Linked DNA regions of Homo sapiens: region 2 is linked to region 1. The links are contacts of gene promoters, found by promoter capture Hi-C in human tissues and cell types (Jung and others, 2019). All regions are on one chromosome and are shown on one strand. The core of a region is centred on a gene start or on the middle of the fragment in contact, and the rest is flanking DNA. Distances in the headings are between cores, read along the strand shown.

Evidence for each region. The method cuts DNA at HindIII sites, captures the fragments that hold promoters and counts their contacts. A contact is called where the count stands out against the background at its distance.
Region 2: a fragment that was not itself captured here is called in contact with the fragment with the promoter of MPP2 in region 1 in 1 of the 25 tissues and cell types used here (aorta).

What each region holds. Positions count from the first base shown.
Region 1 is chr17:43,906,228-43,908,865 of GRCh38, reverse strand. It overlaps MPP2 (MAGUK p55 scaffold protein 2), which reads left to right and starts at 1,330. Exons shown (of 13, transcript NM_005374.5): 1 at 1,330-1,392. RefSeq lists an enhancer at 1,171-1,320. The HindIII fragment of the contact is 11,562 bases long and covers 1-2,638 here.
Region 2 is chr17:44,040,103-44,042,740 of GRCh38, reverse strand. LSM12 (LSM12 homolog) reads left to right here. Exons shown (of 5, transcript NM_001371445.1): 3 at 2,485-2,594. Among named protein-coding and RNA genes, the nearest start is that of LSM12, 25 kb to the left of the region's middle. The HindIII fragment of the contact is 8,358 bases long and covers 1-2,638 here.

The DNA.
Region 1 (2,638 bases), core at 81-2,580:
TTTTTCCTATATCCAAACTTATACCCTTGGAACTCAGGGGAGAGCTGAGTCTTGGAACCCAGGGACCAGTCCCCTGCTTTCGGGATAGATTCCCATTTCTGAGATTTCCAAGCAAGTTTCCAGAATGTAATCCATTTCTTTTCTTTTTGTTTCTTTTGAGACAGGGTCTCACTCTGTTGCCCAGGCTGGAGTGCGGTGTTGCAATCTCGGCTCACTGCAGCCTCAGCTTCCCAAGTAGCTGGGACTACAGGCGCGCGCTACCACGCCCAGCTAATTTTGTTTATTTTATTTTTTGTAGCGATGGGGTTTCACTATGTTGCTTGGGCTAGTCTCGAACTCCTAGGCTCAACCGATGCTCCCGCCTCCGACTCCCAAAGTGTTGGGATTATGGGAGTGAGCCACCGCGCCCGGCCAAAGATGCAGTCCATTTATGATCTTAGGAATCCAGTTAGCAAGGAAAAGGGATGACTCTCACATTTTGTTCAGGGCAACTGGACGGGGTGGCTGAACGCCGAGGTCGGAGAAGTAGCGTAGCTGGCCCCAAATGCTAGTCGCACTGCACAGAGCCTCCCGTATTTGGAGGCCCAGCATCTTTTACTAGCAGATGTGGGGTGGAGCCGGAGGCTGGGCGAAGGCGGGCCAGTGGGTTTAACCCTTTATTTACTTTTTGGGCTGGGACTCTGAGGAAGGCTAGCCAGTTACTTCTTTATTCCATAGGCAGGAAAATGGACCAGGCCTCCCTCACCTAGACCTAAAAGAGGCTCTCGAATCCTTTCAGGAAGACATTTCCTCTTTTTTGCAAAATTTCTGGAAAGTCTGGAATCCGGATATCCACCCTCTGAGTCCTTAAAAAGCTGCCCCTGATCCCGAGGCCTTCTGGGGCTGGTATCCTGCTTCCTGGGAGTCTCTCTGAAGTCCTCCTATTCTTTTTCTCAATATGGAAGCAGGATAACGAGGAAAAGTGAGGCACGCCTGGAACTAGAACGCCGGTCTAAGCCAAGATGGGTGGGCGGAGTAATCAAGCCGGTCTCATTAGGCACTTTTACCATCGCCCCTTTAAGGGATCCTTGGGAGCCGAGGGGCACCAGCGGGTACTGGTACCAGTCCTGCCTCCCTAACCCTTCCCAGTGGGACTCCAGCAGGGCGTCGTGGTCTGTGCGGTGTCTCCCAAACCACTACCTGGCTGCCCCCGTACCAGCTGCTGGGAAAGACTACTTCCTCCGAGTTGTGCCGGCCTCCGCGTTCTCCTCACCTCCCCTCTCCTCCGGACCTCCGCCCCCTCGCGGAGAGGCCTTGCCGCTTTAAGAGCCGGGCTAGCGATTGACAAGCAATAAACGCTGAGCGCCCGGCTGCGCTGGAGCCGCCCGGAGCTAGGGGCTTCCCGGGGCGCAGGTAGGCGTCCCCCGGCCCCCGGGCCAGCTCCTATCCCAAGACCTCCGCCTTCTTTTCGTCCTGACACGGCACTTAGGACCCTATTCACTGGGTTTAAACTCCACAGGCCCCTTTCACCCAGGCCCGTTCCCTCCCTGTCCACCCGCCCCCGCCCCTGGGCCCTCTTTCTGGGGTGCTGGTTGGGAGAACCAAGCCCCGCTGCCCATTGACACTGGTCCCCGCCCCTGCGGTAGGGGCTCCAAAGTGGCTTCAGGCACCAAGGTGGTGAGCTGTGAGGGGCCCCGGTATCTGCGCGGCCTCCCCGGGGGCTGTGCGGGTTGGGGGTACTTAGAAGCCCGGCATTACGTAAGAACCGTGCTGTTAGCGCTTCCGGGGGTTGGGGAGCGAGACAGAGGTTGCGCTGGGTCCCGGTGGCCCCCTGGTCCCCCTAGGCAGCTAACACCACAATCTTCCCTGGGAGGGGGTCCGCAGAAGGGCGCGCGCTGCTTCTCCCGCTTCCCAAGCTGTAGCGGGGCGGGTCGGGAGCCAGGGTTAGGGTCTGGAGACTTGGGAGGGGACCGGTGCCAGAAGCGAAGAGCTAGGGTTAGAAAGTTAGGTCAATTAAGGGGGGGGCGGTGCGGATAAAGACGGGGTGGGGGTTGGCCGGGGCAGTCATTTAGTGACCTCATCCCTGGTCTCCGGCGGGCGCGCACGTAGAGAGCCTTCTTTGATGGCTCACAACACGCCCCCCTCCCCCAGGTCCTAGCGCCCAGGGTGTTAGGGCTGGGTCCGTTGGGGCAGGGGTGATCTGATGGTCCAAGCATGCACGTCCGCCTGGCCTTTCGACCCCATCCTCTGGCCCTCAGTTCTGTCCAGACCTCCCCGCGACCTCTCGCTCTCCAAAGCGCCTTTGTCAGACCTTTCTTCTCCGCACCTCTTTGTATGTGTATGGATGGAGGGATGGGTGGGAGGTTGGAAGAAACCTCTCCCTTTCACTGCTGGTCCGCTCGCCTGCGGACACTATGGGTGATGTGGATATCTCGGAGGCAGAGCTGAGAGGGCATCTGGGCCCAGGCTTTTGGAAGCCGAGGTGCAGGTTCCCAGATGTCTGGGTGCAGGACCTTGGCACGGAGCCAGGCTAGCTTGCCTGGCACTGCCGTTCTCCTGTGGACACAGCCAGGCCCCGCCCTCTCAGAGGCTTGGACGGGCGTGGGGGAGCAAAGCCAGCCGATGCTCTGGGAACCGATTCCCCGGGAGAAAACCCAGG
Region 2 (2,638 bases), core at 45-2,544, 130 kb before region 1:
ACAAAAAAATTAGCTGGGCGTGGTGGCAGGCGCCTGTAGTCCCAGCTACTCGGGAGGCTGAGGCAGGAGAATGACGTGAACCTGGGAGGTGGAGCTTGCAGTGAGCAGAGCTTGCGCCACTGCACTCCAGCCTGGGCGACAGAGCGAGACTCCGTCTCAAAAAAAAAAAAAAAATTAGCTGGGGGTGGTGGCGGGCACCTGTAATCCCAGCTACTCTGGAGGCTGAGACAGGAGAATCGCTTGAACCCAGGAGGCGGAGGTTGCAGTGAGCTGAGATCGTGCCATTGTACTCCAGCCTGGGCAACAAGAGTGAAACTCAATCCCAAGAAAAAAAGCTATGCTTAGTTTATGGTTTGATGGATCACTGTAAAAGCAGAATATAAATGTTTGAAGATTCCAAGCATTAAGGTACTTTTGGAATATGCTGTAGGTATGGCTCCCCCATTTTTTTTTTGAGACGGAGTCTTGCTCTGTCGCCCAGGCTGGAGTGTAGTGGTACAATCTCGGCTCACTGCAGTCTCTGCCTCCCGTGTTCAAGCGATTCTCCTGTCTCAGCCTCCTGAGTAGGCGGGATTACAGGTGCACACCACCACACCCATCTAATTTTTGTATTTTTAGTAGAGACGGGGTTTCACCATGTTGGCCAGGTTGGTCTCAAACTCCTGACCTCAGGTGATCCGCCTGCCTCGGCCTCACAAAGTACTGGGATTATAGGCGTGAGCCACTGGGCCCAGCCAGTGCCTCTTTTTATTTAAGGAACTGATGTTTGGGGACAAATTGTGTGTTCTCGCGCGTGTTTGCACATGTGCTGCAGCATTGTTAGACTCAGCTGTTCATGTTCATGGGTCTGAAGAGTCTCCAGATTATTTGTTGGACTTTTAAGATGCATTGTTTGCCTTTAATTTGTTTTAACTACCTTGTCTAGCACATTTGTTTTGTCTTACACTCAAACAAATTTGTACCTCTGGAATCTCTAGCAACCAGTAGTGTGGGGTAGGGATCAGAAATGTGCTGGAGAGGTGATAGGGATTGACAGGGTAGAAGTTACGAGATTGTAGTAGACTACCAGATTTTACTAGATTTTCTTTTGATCAGTTTGTGGATGGTTCCACCAGAGGGCAGTGAAGGAACAGACATGACGTAGAATTCAGACTCTTCGTTTTTCTCAAAAGCAGGACAGGGTTGCCTTTAGCTAAAGTTAAAGGTGGACAGCGTTTATGGTTAGATTTACTTGAGTCCTGGCTCCCTATGTGAGCACAGATAATGTTCTGTAAGAGTTTTTAGAGTCTCAGATTGTGGTCTGTGAAGGTGTGGTATGTATTAATTTTTAAACTGGAGGCTCTAGCACAACAGCTGATAAATCTTAATTTTCGCCTTGAATGGAAATTCTGTGTGTGTGTGTGTGTTTGTGTGTGTGTGTGTGTGTGTGTGTGTGTGTGTGTGTGTGTGTTTGTTTTTTTTTTTTTTAAAGAGACAGAGTCTCACTTCTTTGCCCAGGCTGGAGTACAGTAGCATGATCTCGGCACACTGCAACATCTGCCTGCTGTGTTCAAGTGATTCTGCTGCCTCAGCCTTCTGAGTAGCTGGGATTACAGGCACGCACCACCATGCCCGGCTAATTTTTGTAATTTTAGTAGAGACGGGGTTTCACCATGTTGGCCAGGCTGGTCTCGAACTCCCTACCTCAGTGATGCACCCAGTTAGAAGTGTGTGTGTGTGTATGTGTATGTATTTTTTTTTGTTTGGTTTTGTTTTGTTTTGAGACGGAGTCTTGCTCTGTCACCCAGGCTAGAGTGCAGTGGCGCGATCTCAGCTCCCTGCAGCCTTCTCCTGGGTTCAAGCAATTCTCTGCCTCAGCCTCCCAAGTAGCTGGGATTACAGGAGCCCGCCACCACGCCTGGCTAATTTTTTTTTTTTTTTTGTATTTTTAGTAGAAACAGGGTTTTAACCATCTTGGCCAGGCTGGTCTTGACCTCCTGACCTCGTGATCCACCTGCCTCGGCCTCCCAAAGTGCTGGGATTACAGGCATGAGCCACCTCCCCTGGCCGGAAATGTATATATTTTTAAATCTCTGACCATCATTTGCCATCACATAGTCCCCCAGCCACACTCTATAATGTTAAAAGTGCTTTATTTTCTTCCTAGTGCTTATCACTGTCTGAAATCACCTTGATTTCAGTTACTTGTTTATAGTCTGTCTCCCCCACCCACTTCAGGCTATATTTAGCCTAGCATAGTGAATGTCTGGCACATGGTAGGTATGCAGTAAGTATTAGAAGGAAGGAAGGAACGTTTTCTTGGAATACCAGTAACTGTTCAGGTATGTCGTGGATTTTTAAAATTTGTTTCACTTTTCATTTCTGAGAAAACAGAATCTGTCCAAACAAGTCTTTCCTGGCCTCCTTTCTTCAGCTTAGGTCCTGACTGTTGGCAAGAATGAAGATGAATCCTATTCTGAGTCTCTTTCCTCTCTTCCACCCTAGCTTGCCAGCAAAGCACGGACAGAGAAGGAGGAGAAGCTGAGCCAGGCCTATGCAATCAGTGCTGGTGTCTCTCTAGAGGGCCAGCAGCTCTTCCAGACCATTCACAAGACGTGAGTTGGGATCGGAGAGGTCCTTTGTCCTGGGGTAATGCTAC